Regions from separate parts of the Homo sapiens genome. Here all the other regions are linked to region 2. The links are contacts of gene promoters, found by promoter capture Hi-C in blood cells and fetal thymus (Javierre and others, 2016). All regions are on one chromosome and are shown on one strand. Each heading gives the region's core, a stretch centred on a gene start or on the middle of the fragment in contact. The rest is flanking DNA. Distances are from core to core; before and after follow the strand shown. Region 1 has its middle 54 kb from the start of LINC02957. Region 2 holds the start of AUH (AU RNA binding methylglutaconyl-CoA hydratase). Region 3 overlaps LOC100129316 (a long non-coding RNA gene). Region 4 has its middle 71 kb from the start of MIR3910-2. Region 5 has its middle 47 kb from the start of MIR3910-2. Region 6 overlaps LINC02937 (long intergenic non-protein coding RNA 2937). Region 7 overlaps LINC02937 (long intergenic non-protein coding RNA 2937).

What was found. Contacts are between HindIII fragments. The CHiCAGO score rates a contact against its expected background, and 5 or more counts as called.
Region 1: a contact is called between a fragment that was not itself captured here and the fragment with the promoter of AUH in region 2, in 12 of 17 cell types (activated CD4 T cells, total CD8 T cells, naive CD4 T cells and 9 more). The highest score is 15.6, in activated CD4 T cells.
Region 3: a fragment that was not itself captured here is called in contact with the fragment with the promoter of AUH in region 2 in 4 of 17 cell types (activated CD4 T cells, total CD8 T cells, megakaryocytes and 1 more); the score reaches 9.6 in activated CD4 T cells.
Region 4: a contact is called between a fragment that was not itself captured here and the fragment with the promoter of AUH in region 2, in 1 of 17 cell types (naive B cells). The highest score is 5.1, in naive B cells.
Region 5: a contact is called between a fragment that was not itself captured here and the fragment with the promoter of AUH in region 2, in 2 of 17 cell types (M2 macrophages and megakaryocytes). The highest score is 5.4, in M2 macrophages.
Region 6: a fragment that was not itself captured here is called in contact with the fragment with the promoter of AUH in region 2 in 7 of 17 cell types (megakaryocytes, M2 macrophages, activated CD4 T cells and 4 more); the score reaches 9.5 in megakaryocytes.
Region 7: a contact is called between a fragment that was not itself captured here and the fragment with the promoter of AUH in region 2, in 13 of 17 cell types (total CD8 T cells, naive CD8 T cells, megakaryocytes and 10 more). The highest score is 18.2, in total CD8 T cells.

What each region holds. Positions count from the first base shown.
Region 1 is chr9:91,048,878-91,052,336 of GRCh38, reverse strand. No RefSeq gene overlaps it. Among named protein-coding and RNA genes, the nearest start is that of LINC02957, 54 kb to the right of the region's middle. The HindIII fragment of the contact is 2,105 bases long and covers 284-2,388 here.
Region 2 is chr9:91,360,234-91,363,508 of GRCh38, reverse strand. It overlaps AUH (AU RNA binding methylglutaconyl-CoA hydratase), which reads left to right and starts at 1,591. Exons shown (of 10, transcript NM_001698.3): 1 at 1,591-1,881. The coding sequence starts at 1,620. RefSeq lists a silencer at 1,421-1,860. The HindIII fragment of the contact is 2,357 bases long and covers 881-3,237 here.
Region 3 is chr9:91,065,359-91,069,058 of GRCh38, reverse strand. LOC100129316 (a long non-coding RNA gene) reads left to right here. Exons shown (of 4, transcript NR_033912.1): 3 at 2,183-2,330; 4 at 2,443-3,700. Among named protein-coding and RNA genes, the nearest start is that of LINC00484, 52 kb to the left of the region's middle. The HindIII fragment of the contact is 382 bases long and covers 1,247-1,628 here.
Region 4 is chr9:91,706,016-91,709,197 of GRCh38, reverse strand. No RefSeq gene overlaps it. Among named protein-coding and RNA genes, the nearest start is that of MIR3910-2, 71 kb to the right of the region's middle. The HindIII fragment of the contact is 3,312 bases long and covers 169-3,182 here.
Region 5 is chr9:91,681,794-91,684,989 of GRCh38, reverse strand. No RefSeq gene overlaps it. Among named protein-coding and RNA genes, the nearest start is that of MIR3910-2, 47 kb to the right of the region's middle. The HindIII fragment of the contact is 6,199 bases long and covers 1-3,196 here.
Region 6 is chr9:91,081,844-91,085,150 of GRCh38, reverse strand. All of the region lies in intron 5 of LINC02937 (long intergenic non-protein coding RNA 2937), which reads left to right. Among named protein-coding and RNA genes, the nearest start is that of LINC00484, 36 kb to the left of the region's middle. The HindIII fragment of the contact is 6,963 bases long and covers 1-3,307 here.
Region 7 is chr9:91,099,398-91,103,036 of GRCh38, reverse strand. It overlaps LINC02937 (long intergenic non-protein coding RNA 2937), which reads left to right. Exons shown (of 6, transcript NR_184105.1): 4 at 371-1,368. Among named protein-coding and RNA genes, the nearest start is that of LINC00484, 18 kb to the left of the region's middle. The HindIII fragment of the contact is 3,123 bases long and covers 387-3,509 here.

The DNA.
Region 1 (3,459 bases), core at 87-2,586, 310 kb after region 2:
AGGTAGATCTCATATCCTGCAACTTTACTGAATTCATTTATTAGTTTTAACCAGTGTGTGTGTGTGTTTGTGTGTGTGTGTGTGTGTGTGTGTGTGTAGTCTTTAGGTTTCTCTACATATATCACGTCAACTGTAAATATGTAATTTTACTTCTTCCTTTCCAATGTGGACATTTTTTTCTTCTTCTTTAGCAATTGTTCTGACTAGAACTTCTGGTACTATGTTGAATAGAAGTGGTAAGAGTGGGCATCCTTGCCTTGTTCCTAATCTTAGAGGAAAAGCTTTCAGGTTTTCACTATTGAGTAAGATGTTAGTGATGGGCTTTTCATATGTGGCCTTTATTATGTTGTGGTAAATTTCTTCTATACCTAGGTTTTTGAGAAGTTTTATCATGAAAAGGTGTTAATTTTTTCAAATGGCTTTTCTATTTCTGTTGAGATAATCATGTGATTTTTATCCTTTATTCTGTTAGTATGATGTATCACATTTATTGATTTGCATGTGTTGAATCATCCTTGAATTCCAGGGATAAATCCCACTTGATCATAATGTATGATCCTTTTAATGGGCTGCTGAATTCAATTTGCTAGTATTTTATTGAGGGTTTTTGCGTCTATGTTAATCAGGAATGAATGTAAAAATACAGGATCTGTAGTTTTCTTTTCTTGCAGTATCTTTGTCTGGCTTTGGTATTGAGGTAATTATAGCTTCTTAAAATAAGTTTGAAAATATTTCCTTTTCTTCATTTTTTGGGGAAGAGTTTAAGAAGAACAGGTCCTAATTATTTAAATATTTGGTAGAATTCACCAGTGAAGTCGTGTGGTCCTGGGATTTTGTTTTGGGAAGGTTTTTGATTACTGATTCAATCTTCTTAACTTATTATTAGTCTGTTTAGATTTTCTAATTCTTCATGATTCAGTATTAGTAGGTTGCCTGCTTCTAGGAATTTGTCCATTTTTTCTGGGTTATCCAATTTATTGGCAGAAATTTGTTCCTAATAATGTCTTATAATTCTTTTTATTTCCATGGTATCGGTTGTAATGTCTCCTTTTTTATTTCTGATTTTATTTAATTGAGTCTTCTCTCTTTCTTTCTTAGTCTAACTAAGGGGTTGTCAATTTTATTTATCTTCCCCAAAACCAAACACTTAGTTTCCTTGATATTAAAAATGTGTTTCTGTTCTCTGTTTTGTTTACTTCTGCTGTAATAATTATTATTTCCTTCGCTTTGCTCACTTAGGCTCAGTTTGTTCTAGTTCCTAGAGCTCTAAAGTTAGGTTGTTGATTTGAGATCTTTCTTTTTTAATGTAGGCATTTATTGCTGTAAACTTTCCCTTATAACTGCTTTTGATGCATCCCGTAAGTTTTGGTTTGTTGTGTTTTCATTTTCATTTGTCTTGAGATATTTTCTTATTTTCCTTTCGATTCCTTCTTTTACTCAATGGTTATTCAATATTGTGTTGTTTAGTTTCTACATATTTGTGAATTTTTCGGTTTTCCTTCTGTTATTGATTTCTAGTTTTATCCCATTGTGGTTTAAAAAGATACTTGACATGATTTCAATCTTCTTAAATTTGTTAAGGCTTATTTTTGTGACCTAACATGTGATCTATCCTGGAGAATGTTCCATCTGAGCTTGAGAAGAATGTGTATTCTGCTGCTATTGGATGAAATATTCTGCACATGTTTATTAGGTTCATTTGGCATGTAGTATTGTTAAAGCCCGCTGTTTTCTTACTGATTTTCTGTGTGGATGTTCTATTTATTACAGAAAGTGGGGTATTGAAGTCTCCTACTATTATTATATTGCTGTCAATTTCTCTCTTCAGACCTGTCAACGTTATCTATTTAGGTGCTCTGATGTTGTGTGCATACAGTGTATATTTACACTTGTTACATCTTCCGAATGAATAGACCTTTTAATTATTATACACTGACCTTCTTTGTCTCTTTGGACAGTTTTACCTTAAAGCATATTTTGTTTGTTATAAATACAGCCACCCCCACTCTCTTTTGGTTTCCATGTGCGTGGAATATTTTTTTTCCATCCCTTTACTTTCAGCCTATGTATGTCCTTAAATCTAAAGTTAGTCTCTCCTAGATAGCACAGTTAAATCTCTAATCCATTGTTATTTAAAATCCATTCAGCTATTTTATATCTTTTGATTAAGAAGTTTAATCCATTTTTATTTAAAGAAATTATTGATAATCAAGGACTATTGTCATTTTATTTGCTTTATTTGTTTTGTAGTTCTTTTGTCCCTTTTTTGTTTTTTCACTGTCTTCTTTTGTGATTTGATGATTTCTTTGTAATGATATGTTTTGCTTCCTTTCTCTTTTTATTTTGTGTATCTACCATAGGTAATTTCTTTGTGGTTATCATAAAGCTTACTTATGTAAATCATCTTATTTCAAGCTTTCAATCATATACAAAAACTATACTCTTAGTCTCCCCACATTCCACATTATGTAAATGATAGCACAATTTATATCTTATATATTGCATATCCATTAACACATTTTGGTAATTATAGCTATTCTTTTTTTTTTTTTTTTTTTGAGACGGAGTTTTGCTCTTGTTGCCCAGGCTGGGGTGCAATGGCGCGATCTTGGCTCACTGCAACCTCCACCTCCTGGGTTCAAGCGATTCTCCTGCCTCAGCCTCCCAAGTAGCTGAGATTACAGGCATGCGCCACCACGCCCAGCTAATTTTGTATTTTTAGTAGAGATGAGGTTTCTCCATGTTGGTCAGGCTGGTCTCAAACTCCCGACCTCAGGTGATTCGCCTGCCTTGGCCTCCCAAAGTGCTGGGATTACAGGCATGAGCCACGGAGTCTGGCCTAATTATAGCTATTCTTAATACTTTTGTCTTTTAACTTCTATACTAGAGTTAAAAGAGATTTACAAGCTTTTATTACAGTATTACGGTATTATGTATTTGTTTCCATATTTGTCTTTACCAAATTTACATTTGCATATGCCTTCATGTTATTGTTTAGCACCCTTGCATTTCAACTTGAAGAATTGCCTTCAGCATTTCTTGTGGGGCAGGTCTTGTAGTGATGAGCTCCTTCAGCTTTTGTTTATTGCCTCTAATAGATTACTTTGTGAAGTACTTAAAATCCTTTATATACAAAGTCATATCATCTGTGAATATAGTTTTACTTCTTGTTTTTCTTTTATTTCTTGTTCTTGCCTAGTTGTGCCAAAAGAACATCTTTGTCTTTTTAAAAGACACATTCTCTAGGGTAAAACAAGGGTAGCCTGGTGCCTCATTGACTCAGAATTGAAAGGAGTCTTAGAAATCATTTACTCACTCATTCCTTTATTTGTCAAATATTTACTCAGTGGTCACAAAGGGCTAGATGCTGGAAGGACAGCAGAGAGAAGACCCCTGCCCTCGTGGGATTGACAGTCAGAGGGCAGGGATGTGCATCCTCCCTTTGTCCAGCACCTCCCT
Region 2 (3,275 bases), core at 342-2,841:
TTCCTTGTAGTAAACTTCAGGAAAATTTTCCTGCATGGAACTTTACAAAAGATAGAATAAAAAGTGGGCTGTGCATGGTGGCTCACACCTGTAATCCCAGCATTCTGGGAGGTCAAGTTGGGTGGATCACTTGATGTCAGGTGTTCAAGACCAGCCTGGCCAACATAGAAACACCCATCTCTACTAAAAATACAAAAATTACCCAGGTGTGGTGGTGTGTGCCTGTGATCCCAGCTACTCAGGAGGCTGAGGTGGGAGGATCATTTGAGCCTGAGATGCAGAGGTTGCAGCGAGAGGCGATCACACCACTGCACTCCAGCCTGGCCGACAGAGCCAGAACCTGTCAAAAAATAAAAAATAAAAATAAAAATAAAAGTGCCTTCAACATCATTTTACAGCAGATGCAGTAATGGAATTCAGTCTACTTTTTGTTTCTACATTGGATAAAAGTTGAGGACATAATGAAGGATGTTTTGCTTAGGACTAAAAAATACAAGAAATTTCTGTGGCACTAGACGTATGCTCATAGCAGCACACTTTTCAAACAGTATTCTTTTTTTTTTTTTTTTTTTTTTTTGAGACAGAGTTTCACTCTTGTTGCCTGGACTGGAGTGCAATGGTGCAGTCTCAGCTCAGGGCAACCTCCGCCTCCCGGGTTCAAGCAATTCTCCTGTCTCAGCCTCCCGAGTAGCTGGGATTACAGGCGTGTGCCGCCACACCTGGCTAATTTTGTATTTTTAGTAGAGACAGGGTTTCACCACGTTGGCCCGGCTGGTCTCAAACTCCTGACCTCAGGTGATCCACCTGCCTCGGCCTCCCAAAGTGCTTGGATTACAGGCGTGAGCCACCGCCCCCTGCCCAGTATTCTTAAATGCAAGCTTTCCCATTAGAGATCTGATAAAAGCTAGGTAGCATTAATTATACTGCAACGTGCTTTGATGAGTACCTACACACTAAATTGATATCCCGAGTTTCTGGAAGAGCTACATACTCTAAATCCCATCTCAGCGTATGGCTTGTTTGAACCCCTGTAAGACTCTTTCCGTCCAGGAAGGGCCATGGGACATCGGTACGAGTGGGTGGGCTGGAGAAAGAACTCCTTTGCCTGTTTGCTGTTCTCATCCTTTTCCTGAACGCCACGTAGTAAACATCATTTATGCTTATCAGGGACGCTAAACCAACAACCTGAGATCCATAAGTAAGGCAGTGACCAACGATGGGCTGCCACACTTTCAGCCAACTTGAGGAGACAAAACTTTTTTGTTCACTTTTGCAGCTTACTTAACACAGGACCGCAGGGCATGGTCCAGGGAGTACGGGGAGATAATTCCCTCCGGGTGGTTCTTATAGAAAAGTCTTCCCTGAATTATTCCATAACCTTGGAAAACTACTTTCTTTCCTTTTGTATTGGACAAACCATCCAATCTCGCTTGGAGAATGGGGCAAGGCCTCGGGTCACCGGGCTTCGGCGGGGCAGTGAGGGGCGGGAACACGGCTCCGGAGGGCGGGGCCAAGCCGGAGCGAGGCGGCGGGTCCGGACGCCGTGCGCGTGCGCGCGGCAGGTCGGCGCCGGGCGGGGGCGGAGCGGCCGTCGCAGGTCCACGCCGTAAACAGACAACATGGCGGCCGCGGTGGCGGCGGCACCTGGGGCCTTGGGATCCCTGCATGCTGGCGGCGCCCGCCTGGTGGCCGCTTGCAGTGCGTGGCTCTGCCCGGGGTTGAGGCTGCCCGGCTCGTTGGCAGGCCGGCGAGCGGGCCCGGCGATCTGGGCCCAGGGCTGGGTACCTGCGGCCGGGGGTCCCGCCCCGAAAAGGGGCTACAGCTCTGAGATGAAGACGGAGGACGAGCTGCGGGTGCGGCACCTGGAGGAGGAGAACCGAGGTGAGGTGCGAACGCTGGGCAGGCGCGGGGCAGCGGGCGGCCGCTCGCTCTCAGGACGGGCATAAGGTGCAGCGTCCGCCGGCAGGACGCGGGGTCGAGGTCAGGCAGGCGCACCGAACCTGGGTCCCTCCCCTTTCTCACCTCCCTACTCACCCAGCGTGGCCGCTTCCTTGTGCACCTATTTCTTGCTTTTAATAACCTAAACGTGTACCCCCGAGCAGCTTACCTGTAAAGTGACCGCATTCAGCGCGGCAAACAGAAGTGCAGCTTACGCCCTCCGCTCCAGACAAGCCAAGGTCAATATATACCCTGGGGATTTAATCCTTGCTACCAGGCTTTATTGTTGCTGTGTAATGGCTTTCTGTAAACTCAGCTATTAGTGGTGGAGTTGTAAAAGCTGCGGTGAAACTGCCTTTTATTATTACGGAGAATCTTAAATTTGAAGCTGCTCAGCTGGAACAATTTTTCCTCTTGTTCATTTTCTCTTAGAAAGTTAGTCTTGAGGGACTGTTCCACTTCATTTAAACAATTTTGAGCACTTTTTATTTTCCTCAGCTCTGGCGATAAGAATGTGGATGGTATGGATCTTGCCCTTGAGCTACCTTCTACGGGAGGAGACATCATTAGCAATACAATACAGAGCTTTGAAGGCTTTGAAGGAGGCTGACAATCCTAGGGAATACTGTTACAGCTCAGTTCCTTTCACTGGCAGTGCAGGGAAAAGCTAAAAGGGTCGTGAAGGGTGGAATAGCAGTTTCCACCCTTAACCTCCGGGTTAAGCCAGAGGACCAGTGTTTTAATTTTGACATGCATTTGTTGAGCACCTATAATCTGTTAAGCAGAAGTGAAAAGCGTGTAAGTCGTGATTGGTTTTAGTGTAGTGAAGCAGATCCTGGTTATTAGTAGGCTGTGTGAACTTTCAAGGCATGGTAAGAGGAAAGGGCTGTAATACCTGCAGGGTTTCGCCATTTGAAAGGGGTTCCAAGGCATTCTTTAATAGGCAGTGGATTTTGCCATTTGTGAGGGTTCTTGGGCAGACTTATCTCACGTGTAAAACAGGAAAAACAATACCAACTTTATAGGTTTGTTATGAAGATGAGATGAGATTGTTAATGTAAATTGCCACTAGCACGTAGCAGTGCTTCAGGAGTGTGATGAATGACTTTATTCCTTACTTATTATTCCAGACAGAGACAAGAACATGGTCAAAGGCATGGAGATGTGAACATGTGTGGTGTATTTGGGACGTAACATAAGGCAAGTGTGGCATAAGCAGAATAGTAAGAAATTCAGCTGGAAGCATAGACTAGCACTGGAGTGATTAGAGCCTGAATGCCATCATCTTTTGGGTAAGCTTAGTCATGCCGGGACTTCACTTCCGTTAAGTGTACCAA
Region 3 (3,700 bases), core at 188-2,687, 290 kb after region 2:
TCCCATCTTATGGCCTTTGGTTTGGGACATTGTTTTTTTGTTTTTTTTTGAGAGGGAGTTTCACTCTTGTTGCCCAGGCTGGAGTGCAATGGCGTAATTTCGGCTCACTGCAACCTCCGCCTCCCAGGTTCATGCAATGGCACAATCTCGGCTCACTGCAACCTCTGCCTCCCAGGTTCAAGCAATTCTCCTGTCTCAGCCTCCTGACTAGCTGGGATTACAGGCATGCACCACCACACCTGGCTAATGTTGTATTTTTAAGTAGAGATGGGGTTTCCCCATGTTGGTCGGGCTGGTCTCAAACTGCTGACCTCAGGTGATCTGCCTGCCTCGGCCTCCCAAAGTGCTGGGATTACAGGCATGAGCCACCGAGCCGGCTGGGACACTGGTTTTTTTGTTGCTTTTGGACATGAATGGAAAACTAGCTCTCCCTGGGTCTCAAGCCCGTGGCCTTCAGACAGTAACTGACACCATTGGCTGCCCCGGGGTCCAGCTTGCCCGTTAGCCCCACCGATCTTGAGGCTTGCCTGACTCTCTCTGTTTTTCGCTCTCACCACTGCCCCTACCCCCACACCCTATTGGTTCTGTTTCCCTGACTAATACACAGGTTAAACCAAGAATGCCAAAGGGACTCTTAGAGTTTATGCACTTGGTTCTCACTTATCAGCAGGCAAGAACAGTAGTCAGAAAATACAGTTGTGCATTGCTTCACAACAGATATACGTCCTGAGAAATGCATTGTTAGGCAATTTTGTCATAGTGCAAGCATCCTGTAATACACTCACACAAACCTTGATGGTAGAACCTGCTATGAACCCAGGCTATAGGGTTCAGCCCATTGCTTTTAGGCCATAAACCTGTACAGCATGGGACTGTACTGAGTACTGCAGGCAACCAGACACAGTGGTATTTGTGTATCTAAATCTATCTAAACGTAGATAAGGCACAGTAAAAATATGGTATAAAAGATAAAACATGGTATCCCTCCATAGGGCAGCTCATTAAAAACGCCTTTGTATATGCAGCCTGTCCTTCGCTGAAATGTTGTTGCATGGTGCTTCACTGTACTTAGCACCTCAAATAGGTAGAGATGTGTGCAGGTCTTGGGACAATAACAGGAACTCTGAGACAAGATTTCTGCCCTTTAGGGAGCTTTACATCTTGCTTAGAAAACCCATAGAAGGAGTTAATGATGCACATAGATGCATAGGAGAGAGCTAAAAGGCCAGCCCCCCAATTCCAAGCTTCAAGAATTTTGAACCCCAGGCCAGGGTTTCAGGGCAGCTGGATCACTTTCCCTGGAAGGATGCACTGTAGCAAGCTGGAGAGGCTCCCACCACCCAGGAGAGTGACTGGTGGTCTTTTAGCAGCAGAGATGGCTTGTCTGCAAACATAGTGAAAGATGCAGGTTGTTTATGTCCCTGGGGCAACCCCTGCCAACAAAGGGACAGGTGCCAGTGGAGAAGGGTCAGCCTCCTCTAGGAGAACTCTGGGAGACTTTCTGTGGGAATCCCAGGAGGCCCTCCAGGGCCATGCCTGTCTGCTCACAGCAGTGACCTTGACCAGGCAGTTCGATAACCTTCTTTCCTGAACACTCCCAAGAAAACTAGCTGATGGCCGAAGAAGCTTTGCTTCCATTCTTCTGTCTGGACTGCATTCCCATGGGCATTCTTGGAGAGGACATCCACATCCACGTTTCAACTTTGCGTGTCTCCAGCTTGCATGTTGCAGAGATTTGTAGACTCCATCTTCTACCACTGCTTTTGCCGCTACTCCTGCGGGCAGCTGCTACTGTAGGCCTGCTAGGCACTGGGTGCTTCACTTACGTGGTCTCTAATCCTCACCGCAGCTCAGCAAGGCAGGTGCGAGAGGTTCCATTTAACAGAGCAGCCAATTATTTAAGGTACCACTGGTGATCCCCGAGTCCCATCTGCCCCAGAGCTGGTGTTCTCTGTAGCCCTCCCTTGCTCAAGTGCTGCCTGCCATGTGCAGAGCATGGGTTCCCAGCTGGATGAGGCATCAGCCTGTACCTTTGGCCCCCCAGACCATGTCCTCCTGGTGTGGGTGCAGTTGGCTACACCCTTGTGCTGACCACTTGCTGTGCCAGAGGGGATTTCTGATACTGCCAAGACTTAGACAGCAACATGCCCTCCCATTATTGAACAGGGATGCTTTCTTCCAGTGTCACTCAAAGAAGCAGCAAGACTCTGTCTTAACGTGGCTTGCTGTTGCTATTATTTCCCTCGAAGCCATGAGACACTGGATGAGAGCAGCGGCTGGGCGTGTGAGTTAACATCGCATGCTTTCCTGACTCCACTGCCCCACTCATGGTAAGTGTCCAGTATGTGTTGTCCAAGGCATGATTGCATTTTTCATATCTTCCGTTTAACCTTCTTGTTGACTGTGGTACATCAATCCAGTTTGATTTTTCATTGCACACAGAGGTCATAGCATAGCTTCTTGAATTTGTCCTTCTCTGAATGGAAGCCACTTGGATCCTCCAGGTATTTCTCCAAGGGGCAGGGCTTTCAGCACAGAATCAACAGGAGAAACCATCTGGAAAGCCCAGAGGCGTGTTCGGCAGCGTGTGGGAGCAGAGCTGCAGTAAACGGTGGCTCCTTGTTCGCCCATCTCAGCTGTTCAGCTGACTTCTTGCCGTCTCCAGCTGTCTTCTCTATCTCATCCTGATGACTCCTTCCCACAACTCTTTCCCTGGCTGCCGCAACGGTCCAGCTGCAGCCTGCATTCACAGTTACTTACCTGTGGGGCTTTCTTGTTTCTGAGATGGCCGAATTGTCTTCTGAAATTTACCTCCATGACTCTGGTTATATATTTTGGTTCCTAGTGGGTGCCGACATCACAGTGGGCTGATTAGATGGTTTGCATTACTTGTTGGCAGGCCTTCGAGCCTCCTGTGCAGTTTCCCGAAAATATTCCATCTGCAGGTGGGAAGCCCAAGCCCCTGGGCAAATTATGCCATGAGTGTGTCTTGGCAGTCATTCTGGGTTCCAATGACTTGGGCCGTGGTTCAAACATTCCCTGGGGATTGTCCGGATCTGAGCTCCTGGTGGTGGGAAGCCAGCCTTTGGTGCCAGCCTGGCCCAGCACCATCTCTTGACTCCTGACCCCACCAGAGGGTGAGGACTTGGTGTGAGCAGGGACACAGCAGGTCCCAGGAAAGTCTGCTGAGTGAACGGGTGAATAAAATAGTCTCAAACCCTGTATGTTATTCCCTCCTTGCCCCTACTCAGAACTCCTCCTCACTTCCAATCGGAACTTGTCTCCTCTCTGCCAGAAGGTCAGCCCTGGTGATTCCTGGAGTTCATGCCTCCTGTCCCGCCATGGTTCTGTGGACTGCTGGCTGTTGTGGGGAGCTATCTTCCTGGTGAGCTTTGCAGGGCAGGGTCCCAGCAGGAGAGCAGAAGCAAGATGCATGGTGCAGATGAGGGATTCTTTCCAGTGGTTAGACCCTGCAGGACCATGGGGGAGCTGGGCAGAAAAGTACAAGGGGTGTTGGAGAATCTGAGAAAAGGCATCAACCAGCCTTCCTGAATCCCTGGCCTGTGGCAAGAAAGGCAAGTCAGAGCATGGGCCATGGGGCACAAAGGGGAGTAGGTGGGGTCTATGGACTGCCACCACCTCTAGCATAAAGTCCAGGCTCAATGTCTGCTGCTGGGCCTGGGGCCTCTTGTGGTCAGTG
Region 4 (3,182 bases), core at 575-3,074, 350 kb before region 2:
TAAAAATACAACAACAACAACAACAACAAACAACAACAACAAGAGGTGGGTTACTGTTAGTTAATCAGAAATAGTAAGGTCAGAAATATTCAGAGATAATGAAGGGGTCCATGTTTTGATAAAAGGCCATGAAAAGTCATGGAAGCCACAACTAGTCCACACCAAGCTTGGCAGATAGATGTGTAGAGCAGCAGCTCCCAGGATGAATAGCCACTGTGGGAACATTAAATGCAGCTTTCAGAAATTGAAAGAGCAAGTCAGAAAAAATATCTGCAAACATTTCGTTCTGAAGGACACAATCCCTCAGCTTGGTCTAATTAGGCAGACTGATAACCTTGGTTCATACACATAGTATCAAGTTTTTCTTATAGCACATTTTTAATAATCAATCATGTACTTAACAACGAAGTAAGCCTTATTAAAATCCCCAAAGTAGAAACTTTACAAACTGTTTTTGCTGACCATAATTCCATAAATCTTTTTGTTGTTGTTGTTGAGACAGGGTCTTGCCCTGTCACCCAGGCTGGAGTGCAGTGGCATGATCTCTGCTCACTGCAACCTCTGCCTCCCGGGTTCAAGGAATTCTCATGCCTCAGCCTCCCCAGTAGCTGGGATTACAGGCATGCACCACCACCACCTCTGGCTAATTTTTTTTGTATTTTTATTAGAGACAGGGTTTCACCATGTTGGCCAGGCTGGTCTTGAACTCCTGGCCTCAGGTGATCCTCCCACCTTGGCCTCCCAAAGTGCTGGGATTACAGGCACAAGCCACAATGCCTGGCCCGTAAATCTTAATATGACCAGAAAAATAACTACTTCCAGTCAGGTGCGGTGGCTCACGCCTGCAATCCCAGCACTTTGGGAGGTTGAAGCAGGTGGATCACCTGAGGCCAGGAGTTCAAGACCAGCCTAGTCAACGTGGCAAAACCCTATCTCTCCTAAATATACAAAAATTAGCCAGGTGTGGTGGCACACACCTGTAATTCCAGCTACTCGGGAGGCTGAGGCAGGAGAATTGCTTGAACCAGGGAGGTGGAAGTTGCAGTGAACTGAGATCGCACCACTGCACTCCAGCATGGGCGACAGAGCAAGACGTTATCTCAAAAAAAATATATAATAATAACTACTTGAACACTTTTCTAGGTAAACCCTGGATCAAAGAAAAAATCAAAATCAAATGTCAAGGTATCTAGAAATTAATGAAAGAAGAATACAATTATGGAATACAGCTAAAGCTGCATTCTAAGGAAAAGTTAGAGCTTAACTACTATCTTATTTAAAAACAATAAAAAGCAAGCACAATTTATATTCACAAACAGGAAAGATCCCCAACCCCCATCCTCCTGTCCACACTGCTGTGACACTGGCTTTCAGAGCCCTTAGAGCTTCCTCAACTCTTAACTCTGTTCTCCTCTGCAATCCACCCCCATTCTTTCCTCCCTCTGACATCCTCACTCAGGCCTCGTCTTCGACCCTTTCCTTTCTGAGTGTTCTACTTCTGCTAGTAACTTGTTAAATGAATAGTAAACTGAATTTATTTATTTTTTCATTATTTTCTGACATTAAAAGTGATAAAGAGGCTGGGCGCAGTGGCTCACGCCTGTAATCCCAGCACTTTGGGAGGCCAAGGCAGGTGGATCATGAGGTCAGGGGATTGCGACCATCCTGGCTAACACGGTCAAACCCCGCCTCTACTAAAAATACAAAAAAATTAGCTGGGCATGGTGGCGGGCGCCTGTAGTCCCAGCTACTTGGGAGGCTGAGGCAGGACAATGGCGTGAACCCGGGAGGTGGAGCTTGCAGTGAGCTGAGATTGCACCACTGCACTCCAGCCTGGGCGACAGAGCGAGACTCTGTCTCAAAAAAAAAAAAAAGTGATAACTGATTTTCTGGTAACTTTAGCAAGATGGTGGAAAAGGAGTTCCCTTTCTTGTATCCCCTACAGCAACAACAGTTTTACAGCCATCCACAGACAAAATGCCTGTGTGCAAGCTCTGGGATCCAGGTAGGAGGTTGCAAAACTCTGGTGGAGGCCATGACCAAGGAGGGCCATTTTGAGAAAGCAGGCTCACTGACTATGGCAGTCCCAGGTGGCCAGGCTCACTGACTGTGGTCCCAGCTACACACCTGGAAACAGCCTATTCCCCTGTGGACTCAGCTACAGCCCCATTTGGCCTTGGTCCTGCCACCAACATGATCCACCAAAGGCCCTAGGAGGAGTCATGCTCACCCATGCCTCATGTAACATGCCCACTGACTGAAGGTTGACTGCTGATCCTGAAATAGCCCCGTAACAAGCTCCAGCTCCTTTCAACCATGGCTTGAGAATGGTTCTGCTCACCAAGGGCATCAGATGGAGACACACCCAACTGAGACCCTGGACCTCAGTCCAACTGGAGATAATGAAGTGACCTGTGACCCAGCCCCAATTCTGCTAAGCCATGATTTGGGGCAGTCCTGCCCACCAAGGAATCCAGCAAGAGGCATACCCATCCATACCCCTGGAGGCAGACTTGCAGACCTCAGTCTGTGCTGTAGACTCTGAAGCAGCCTTGTGACTTAGTTCTAGCCCCACTCAGCCATAGCCTAAAGTCAGTCCTCCCCACCCAGAGACTTTCCCAGTGACCCAATAGGAGACGTCTCAGGGACCTGGCAGAAGCCACACTCATCCACACACATGGTAACAGGCCCACTGTTTGCAGACCCAACTGAGCACTCTGAAGTGGATTACTGTCCTAGTGCCAGACCTACTGCCCAATTTTCTGGAGGCAGTTCCATCTGCCCAGGGACAAAGGCTGAATTATCACCCACCTGAATGTCTGGTAACAGGCCTACCAATGATGGACCCCATGCAGACCCAGCAACAGCCACATAACCTGGCCCCAAACCCACTCAGCTGTGATCCCAGAAACAATCCCATTGGTCTGGATGGCAGCAGAAGGTCTTTGCCTGCCAAAACCAGCCTGTAAAGACTAGAAGAAGGGTTTGCTCCTTCAAATGTGCAAACACCAATGCAAGCCTACATGGAGCACAAAGAATCAGGCAGACACGACACTACCAAAAGAAACTAATAAAGCTCCAGTAGCAGACCCCAAGAAATGGAGGTCTACAAATTGCCTGATGAAGAACTCAAAATGAAGTCAGGCCTCTGTACCTGTGGGTTCTGCATCCATGGATTCAGT
Region 5 (3,196 bases), core at 325-2,824, 320 kb before region 2:
CTAGTATATTGCTCAAATTTTATCTTTCTTTATAATATCTGTCTCACAAAATCTTTTTTTCTTTTCTCTGTCACTCAGGCTGGAGTGCAGTGGTGCGATCTCGGCTCACTGCAACCTCCGCCTCCCAGGTTCAAGCGATTCTCCTGCCTCAGCCTCCTGAGTAGCTGGGACTACAGGCACGTACCACCACACCTGGCTAATTTTTTGTATTTTTAGTAGAGAAGGGGTTTCACCATGTTAGCCAGGATGGTCTCCATCTCCTGACCTCGTGATCTGCCCACCTCAGCCTCCCAAAGTGCTGGGATTACAGGCATGAGCCACCATACCTCGCCCACGAAATCTTTTACATTTAACATAATGGAGTTAACCAGATTTTACATGATGACTTGTGTCTTATTCAACAATTCTTTCCACATCCAGATGTCTCATAAATACCAGACAATATTTTCTTACAAAAAATTTAAAGTTTGCTTTTCACATTTAGGTATTTAATCTAGAATATATTATTTTAGTGTGTGATATGAGGTAGGAAAATAAAACGTACCTATTTTTCTGCAGGATAGGCAATTGTCCAGCACCATTTATTAAAAGTTGATGTTTCTCTATGAGTGTAACGCACTTCCGTGACACACCGTCACAGTATGCATAACACAGGAAGAAGTCTATTTGCAGACTGTTTTCTCCACTCGTTGATTCTTCTAAACACATTTTAAAAACAAATGCTTCTTGGCTGGGCGCGGTGGCTCATGCCTGTAGTCCCACCACTTTGGGAGGCCAAGACAGGTGGATCACTTGAAGCCAGGGGTTGGAGACCAGCCTGGCCAACATGGTGAAACCCTGTGTCTACTAAACATACAAAAATTAGCCTGGCGTGGTGACACACGCCTGTAATCCCAGCTACTCAGGAGGTTGAGGCAGGAGAATCACTTGAACCTGGGAGGCGGAGGTTGCAGTGAGCTGAGATCACGCCACTGCATTCCAGCCCAGGTGGCAGAGTGAGACCCTGTCTCAAAACAAACAAACAAACAAACAAACAAAAAACCACCAAAAACCACAAAAAAACCCACAAATGCTTCTTTAAAACAAATATATTCTATTTTTAATATTTTATTCTTTATGCTGTCATGTTTGCAGATACATTAAGTCAGGTTGAGAAATTACATTCTTATATCGCAATAAATGAGTCCTAATCTACTAACCTTATCATCTGGGCAGTAGAGCTGTATGCAGAAGAATGCCATCTTTTTGTTGTGCCTCTGAATTGCTTGTAAGGCCACATGACCAGTGCTGTTTTCTCTCACTTCTGATAATGGGGAGGAACTGGGATACTTGAGGGTCACCCTCCTAGGAAACCAGTCAGTAAATATTTGATTGATAGGTAGTTTCCATTTATCTACAAAATGAGATTACTCTTCATATGTGAGACATGGTTCTGCAAGTCCTAAGAGAGTTCATCATGCATTCTGTTGTTTATTTTTCTTTTGGAACGCCCTAGCTTTTCTTGACCAGGCAACCCATCATGAAATTTAGCATTGCAAAAATTCTGAATTGTTGGGTAATGAACCCAGTCTTCAGAATTTACATGGGGGAATCATTGTGGTGAGGTGCAGGGCACATCTTGGATTAGCTCTATTTTGTGAAATAAGATGTACTTGAGAAATAATCACTATATTTTTTCCTTTTTCTATTTTATATGTTTTGGGAATTAGTTGTGACAGTGTCTGTGGTGGGCAGAACCTTAGGTGACCTCCTCCAGGGTCCCCACATCCGGATGTTCACACCTTTGTGTGACCCCTGCCTTGACTGTGCGTGAGACCTGTGGCTTGCTTAGGCAGACACAATACGGCAAAGGTGATGGGCTGTCACTCCGGTGGTGAGGGTATGTTAGATTAGACTCTGTTGCCAGCTCACTCACTCTGGTCCCTCTCTCCCTGGCTGGCTTTGAAAAAGCAAGTTGCCATGAGTCAGTCCCAGACACGCAATGACACAAACTTTGTCTAACACACCACCCCAGGGAGCTTTCACAACCAAGCCCTGGGGACATCATGATTTCAGCCTGAGAGACCCAGAGCAGAGGCCTGGTTGAGCAATGCCTGTACTCCGACCCCCAGAACCTGAGAGATGATACATGCGTGTTGTTTGAAGCAGCAATAATGTTTGAAGTAATTGTTATGTAGCAATAGAAAACTAATACATTGACTTACAGATGATTTCTGAAAGTCATTTTCCTGGCTAATGCATACGATGGTTGGAATGTTCCAACCAATTCCACCGGGTTTGTTTTATCCAGATAAGAAATAGATAATGTTTATATTAACTCTTTCCCAGGGCCTATTACATTAACTTGTAGTTGAATGCTCACCCGCGGTTCTAAAACATGCGCTAGTTCCTACTTTCCCCTGCCTGTTTTATTTGTTCTCAAAGTCAGATGACTTGAGCTTGCAGCTCCAGCAGGGAAGGGTCCTTGTCTTTCCAGGTCACTGCTGTATCCCCCAATAACCAGCGAGGGCTGGGTACACAGCAGGTTCAAGAGATATTGGTTAAATAACTAGGTACATGAACAAATGGTTGTCATCACATTCTTAATAGTGTTATAATTCTCTGTCTCAGACTCTGGGGTAAGCGTTTTATGTACATTATCTCTCTCAATCACTACAACAGCCGTGCTGGATAAGTGGGACCAGTCTCCGCGGACAAGTGGAGACCTCGGGTTCCCAGAGTTTAGCGATCATCAGAGATCAAACGGAGATTCAGTGGCAGCACTGGAGATCGGACCGATTCTATTTAAAACACTTGTCTATTTAAGTATATTTAAGAACACACACACACATAAATATATATATACACACATATACATGCACGCAATATATACAGCATATATTTCTGTATAAATACATATATTTGTACTATACATTTATAAATAAAATTTTATTTTGGTAAATAAAATTATATATAAATTTAGCAAAAGGACTGAAATTCTCCGTCTACACTGATCTCTCTCGAGGGAGTGCAGTTTGGCAGCCCGGCTGCCCGAGGCTGTTTCCTGCCTGTGGGGTCCGTGCGGCGCCTCCGCGGGCTGTAGATGGCGCTCGAGTCCTGGCAGCGCCCGCTCCTCTGCGCCTTGGCAGCGCCTGTGTTGACTCCCGGCGCCCTTGGCTGGTGGGAGAGCGTATTTTCTCACAATTAATACAGATGG
Region 6 (3,307 bases), core at 63-2,562, 280 kb after region 2:
TCCAGATGCTCTAATCACAAGGTTGGTTCCCCCTGGAAACCAGCCCCTAACCTGAGGCTGTCCAGAAGCCTCCAGTCACCAGTCATCTCCTTAGCATACAAAAGGCACTTATCAGTTGGGAGGTTCCAAGTGTTTTAGGAGCCATATGTCAGGAAAGAGAGGTAGTTGAAAACCAAATATATGTATTGCTTATTATAAGTCACATTATCCCAGTGTGTTTTTGTGTTTGGCTTCTTTTTTTTTTTTTTTTTTTTTTGAGACGGAGTTTCGCTCTTGTTGCCCAGGCTGGAGTGCAATGGTGCAATCTCAGCTCACCGCAACCTCCGCCTCCCGGGTTCAAGCGATTCTCCTTCCTTAGCCTCTCGAGTAGCTGGGATTACAGGCATGGGCCACCATGCCTGGTTAATTTTGTATTGTTAGTAGAGATGGGGTTTCTCCATGTTGGTCAGGTTGGCTGGGACTCCTGACCTCAGGTGATCTGCCCGCCTTGGCCTCTCAAAGTGCTGGGATCACAGGCGTGAGCCACCGTGCCCAGCCTGGCTTCTTTTTTTTTTAGCATTCACTTGACATTTAGGCCGCAAGCACATGTAAGAACCTGACAAGAGCCCCCCAGGTAAGCCATACCTGCATTCCTTATTGACAAAGGCTGTGAGATAATAAACATTTACTGTTGCTTTCAGCCAATAAATTGTGGGATAATTTTTTAGACAGCAATAGATGTAAACCAAACATAAAATCCTAAGCCTTCCCCTGACTGTCTGAATGGACTCGCTGTAGGCCAAGGGGACCCCAGAGAAACCTATAAAACAGAATTCCCGACAGGAAGGGGGGTCAGACATGCCTCATTATACACCCTCTATTCTGGAGTTCAGGCAGAACTGATCAGCATTAACATCAAAATAGAGATTAAGAGTCTGACACCTTTTGAGGTCTGAAAAGAGACATTTACCCTCTATCCTTGGCTCTTGAAACCCCCTTATCTTAACTCAGGCATTTTTTTTTGCTGCTGGGTTCAAGTTCTTAGACAAAGCTGAACTCTTTCAATCAATTGCAAATCAGAAAATCTTTGAACCCAACTATGACCTGTAAGCACCCCTACTCTGCCCTGACCCTCTCCACAACTTTACAGGCTGAGCCAATGTAAACCTTACATGTATTGATGCCTGTAACTTCTGTCTGCCTAAAATGTATAAAACCAAACTATAACCCAACTGCTTGGGACACACTTTCTTAGGACCTCTAGAGACTATTCCCTTGGGCCATGGTTATTCATATTGGTTCAGAATAAACCTCTTTAAATATTTGACAGAATTTGTTTTTTCCATTAATGTAGAGAACGAATACATATGAGCATGTGAATACTGTGAGGCAACTAAGTCCCTTTGATATTCAATGTACCATCAAGTCCAACTCCAAAGGTGCAAAATTTGTTAAATTGTCCACTATTAAAACTTGGGGACATGAGAAATATATTACCAGTTGTATTAGCATGTTTCGTTAATGGGATGAAATTTGTCCCTTTTTCTAATTTTTTAAAGAAAGCTGTATCCAGATCAAAAGACAGAATCCCCAATTTATTTTTAGGTCCATGTAACAGGTTGGATGAATAAGAAAGAAATTACATTGTGGACACTGTGTCCCAGCGGGTGACCAAAGTAACTTGCCCTGTCAGTCTGGGACAAGCCTTCGTTGGTCAGACAGGACAGTTGTAATCCCTGGGAGACTCAGTCGGCCAGCCCCGACTTTGAGATACACTGTCAAGAAGCCATTGAAAGGACCCGCAAGGGGCTGGGCACAGTGGCTCACACCTGTAATCCCAGCACTTTGGGAGGCCACGGCGGGCAGATCACCTGAGGTAAGAGTTTGAGACCAACCTGGCCAAAGTGGTGAAACCCCGTCTCTACTAAAAATACAAAAAAATTAGCTGGGCGTGGTGGCTGGCATCTATAACCCCAGCTACTCAGGAGGCTGAGGCAGGAAAATCGCTTGAATCTGGGAGGCGGAGGTTGCAGTGAGTGGAGGTTACAGTGAGCCGAGATTGTGCCATTGCACTCCAGCCTGGGCGACAGAGTGAGACTGTGTCTCAAAAAAAAAAAAAAAAAAAAAGGAAAGATCTACAAGGGAAAAGGGAAGGGAAAGAGGCAGATGCAGACCTCACACTCCAAAAGGAAGAAGGAGGAGGCTCACACGTCACAAGTGTGTGAATATGTCAACACATCATGGAAGGCTGTAAAACAAGAGCTCTTGGTGAAATGGTTTAAATAACGTGGGACTGGTAATGCTCTTGGCAACCTGAGTATGATTTGTTGTCTGCAGATGGTTTTGGCCTGTGTTCTCCTGTAGTGAAGGCTAACAATTAAGAGATCCATCTAGAGTCCACTAACAACAATGGTTTCAGGCTTTGAAAATATTTCTGGCAGGGCACGGTGGCTTACGCCTGTAATACCAGCACTTTGGGAGGCAGAGGTGGGCGGATCACGAGGTTAGGAGATCGAGACCATCCTGGCTAACACGGTGAAACCCCGTCTCTACTAAAAATACAAAAAATTAGTCGGGCGTAGTGGCGGGCGCCTGTAGTCCCAGCTACTCGGGAGGCTGAGGCAGGAGAATGGAGTGAACCGGGGGAGGCGGAGCTTGCAGTGAGCTGAGATCACGCCACTGCACTCCAACCTGGGAGACAGAGCCAGACTCCGTCTCAAAAAAAAAAAAAAAAAAAAAAAAGAAAATATTGCTATAAGTTTTCAGGGTAAATATTAGAACCTTTATGACACTTAAAAACAATGTTTGTGACTATGAAGTAGTCATTATTCATGAAATCTTTGGATTCTGAAATCATTTCCCCAAGTTTTCTCCTGCGACTTGCTGTGCATTATTATTCAGTAAAAGATTTGCCTTTATGCATGAACATGATGTTGGCATTCCTTCAAATTTATTGTTTTTTCTGTTTGCTTTGTCCCATTTTTTAAAATTAGATGTTTTTATTTTGAGATAATTGTAGATTCACATGCAGTTGTAAGAAATAATACACAGGGATCCTGTTGTACCCTTTTCCCTAGTTTCCTCCAATGGGTAGGATTTTTCAACGCTAAAATAAAGTATCTCAACCAGTGTATGCACATTGATAGTCAGGATCAGAACATTTCCAATACCACAGGGTCCCTCCAGTCACCCTTTAATAGCCACACATGGTCCCCCACTCCACTGTCCTTAACCTCTGGCAACAACCAATCTATTCTCTATTTCTATGATTGTGTCGTTTCAAGAATGCTATATAGAAATCACGTAGTGTGTAACCTTTTGCAGTTTG
Region 7 (3,639 bases), core at 699-3,198, 260 kb after region 2:
GATACAGAGAGCTTGTGGGATGGCTCATACCAACATCATTGTCTTTGGAAAATAAAATCAGCCAACATGACCTACAACACCATCCTGATACAATTTAAATGACATAGATGAAGGTGATTAATAATGACAGCATCATACTGGTGTAATGTACGTGCAGTAACTTACTGGCCTCAAGGATAGGCCTCTGGTTGAAGTGCCCACATGCCCGGGATACATCTCATCACCTAGGTGGATGATCTGAGCATCTACTGTGTGTAAAGATACACATGGCTGGGATTTTGAACATGAATAGACGTGACCCTTTGAATTAACCTTGAAAACAACTTGTGACTCTAATGAGGTTTTTTTGTTCCTATCTCCCATGACATAGGGCTCAACTCTAAGCTTTCAGAAAGCATCTCTTGAAAATAAAATCTTGGATGTTGTAGCAAGTGCTGTGTACATGCTCTTCAGCTCCTAGCCCCATCCTACTACTGTGAAAGTGCATGCCTGTAAACTGCCACCCTCCAGCATCTTTTTCTGGCCATTAGAGCCTGATTTTCCTGAAGATTCAGCAGGTTGGAATGCCAGAGAAGTAATGCCCTACCTGCACCCAGCAGTGTTCCACCAGTGGCTATGGGAGTGGCTCACACACTCCAGCTACCTTCCTTCATGGGACTGGAACCTGGAGTTCCCAAGAGGGATTAGGCTCTAGTTGTCCATGGGGCAGCTGTTTTACTGTCACCTTCCCTGTCCTGTCTCTCTTCCTGTCTCCACTCCCTACAGTGCTCCCAGAGATAACTTCCCAAATTTGCTGCCTGCCCTTGGATGTTATTTTAGGGTTGGCTTCTGAAGGAACATAAACGAAGACAGACAGATGTGCTGGGTAGCTATGTGTAAGATCACACTGAAACATAGCCAAGAACAAGGCACTCAGCCACTCCCAGGTTTAAAATCAAGTTTCCTACTTTGTCTCTCTGGTCTGAATCTGAGTGAAAGCCCAGGCTCCTGCGTCACCTGGGCCACCTAAGGATCTCCCTCCAGCCTCTGGGTGCTGAAGCTCCACCTGCCCTCACCACATCACAGGAAACCGCGAGCACATCCTCCTGCCTTCTCCAGCAGTCTCTTCAGTGAGCGCCTGCAGAACTGCATCTAGAGCACCGGGCCAATATTGTCACCTTCCCTGTCATGGCTTCCTTCCTGTCTCCACTCCCTACAGTACTCCTGAGAGCCGGGAGCACTCCCTGGAGCACTCCCTGATTCGTTTTATCTTCTGCACAACTGTTTGGCTGGAATAGGAAGCAAATGGCATGGAATTTGCATATGAAAAGCCATTCCCACCTGTGTCCTTGTGTCTGTAAGGATAGGAGGATCCAATCTTCTTATCTGGTAATTGGTCAACTGGGACTGAGGGTTAGTGGGAAACCTGTGTGCCCCTACAGGCAGGAGGGGGACGGGGTGACCCTCTCCGGTGGCTCTCAGTCTGCCAGTGTCCCTGGACTGTTTCCAAGCCCAGGGTTCATCTGGGACAACTGGGCAGGGGGCTATCGCTGCAGCCAGCCCCTTCCTGGGTGTACTGATGAATCAGGCTTCCCTGGGGCTCTGGGGAGGGTGATACCCCTTGCCCTCCCCTTCCAGAGCCTTGTGCACTCCAGGTGCTCACCCTGGAGCTGCCTCCCTCCAGTCTTCCAGACTCAGGCTTAGCTGCCTCTCAGCAGCATTTCCCTTTGCCCACAGAGGCCTCCTCTCCTCTCCCAGCTGAGTGTTCACCACTCTTTATTTTATTTTAAACTTTGTTTGGGTTAAAGTGTTTTCTTTCCTCCCTGACCGTTTTTCTCATCTTCTGCTGCCTTTTCCTTCCAGTTGCGGGTTCTTAGGTTCTGAGCCTGGGAAGCTCAACAGTCCATCTGGTGTTTGTAGATGGCCTCAGGGGACCTGACGCATGTCCACATGCCCTTTGGAGCTGAGGGGTGGATAGGACACCTGGGGGCACACAGTCCCCCACCCCGTGCTGCTGGGACAGGACACACTGACCCGAGGCCCCTTCCGGCTTCCTGTGTGGCTCCTGGCCTGGCCATGGGAGTTATGAAATCAGAACTGGTGACTGCCACATGCCTGGGGCCTCAGCCACAGCCAAAACCTAAACCAAATGAAGTCAAATCCCCACCTTAACCCATCTGGAAACAAAAACAGTCCCAAAGAAGAGAGAGACGTGAGCCATTTTGGACAGGTGTGTGATTCTGAAATTGAGGGAATGAGCAAGAAACAGAAATGCGCTCACCAGACCAGTTGCTGCATCCACTGGGCAGTCTGGAGCCGTGTGTGTGTGTGTGTGTGTGTGTGTGTGTGTGTGTGTGTGACGCTGACGAAGAGTTTTGAAACACTGAACTGACAGGGACTTAGAGGTGGAACTGTGTGACCAAATGCTTTTAAAAACGATTAAACTAACTTTACAGAATTCATCCTGAGGAGGGAGAAATGGGCCCTGTTGTAAGGCTCTGGATGTGGGAATTAAAATGCAGGTACTGGCTTGGCCCAAGAGCTGAATGCACTCTTAAGGAAACTGAATCTTTGCCACAGTCGGCAAGCTCAACAGCGATGATTAAACATTTAATCAGACACATGATACTTTGTTGTGTGTTCATTGTGGCTACAGGAAAGGGTGCTGTAACAGATCTTTAAATAGCAAACCCGCGGCTAAATTTCACTTCATCCATCAAAGGCTGCTGCTATGCAATGACCTAATTTTAGCAGCTTATCAATCCCCCAGTGCTTGTTAGTTGATGTAACTTTGATCCTCTGATGCTAGATGACTTTTGTGCTGAATATAGCTAGAATTTAATATGAATCACTTGGATGGCTGCCCAGCTGAGCTCAACTGTATGAGAGAGAGAGAGAGAGAGAGAGAGAGAGAGAGAGAGAGAGAAATAGAGGATTCGGGCTACCGAGGTGAATAATAATATACACATAGGCTTCCTTTTTTTTCTGGGGCAATCAACTCCATATCTCTAGGCATGTATTTCAAGCACAATACCCTTGGACTTTTGCTTTATTTCTCCCTCCTAAACAATGAGACTCTTCTCCCGGCAAACATACATAGGAGGTAATAATAAGCTGCTACTGCCAAGATCTGATGACAGTGTCAATAATTGCAAGACATTTTAAATGAATTTTTTCTAAGCAAATCATTGCCTTTTGCAGTGAGCGTTTATTTCTACATAGGAAGAGAGGAGCTGAGATGTTACGAAGGAGCAGAGAATATCTTTAACAGCCCTCCTCCTCTTTCATTTTCTAAATTATTAGATTGTGCTTTTTTGGCTTTCCTACTGTCTGGCTTCTCATCTGAATTTTGAGATTTCCTTCCATCCTTCTGGCTCTTTGGCAGAACCACCTGTGTCCCAGGCATCCTTCCTGGACGGATGTGGCTGTTGCCTCACTCTTCTCCATTTGCCCTCATTGACATTATTTCTACCCATAAAATAGGGTCCTGTGGTTTATGTTCTTCATTTTCTGAACCTGGCAGGAAAGCTTCCTAGACAGGAGGCCTGGGCAGACACTGAAACACACCGGACTCCTGGATGGGCCTGGCCCCGGACAGCTTGCTGGGGTCTTGCCCACCCTGTCACTCCACCACTTTCTCATCCAAGTTGGGAGAGTCTT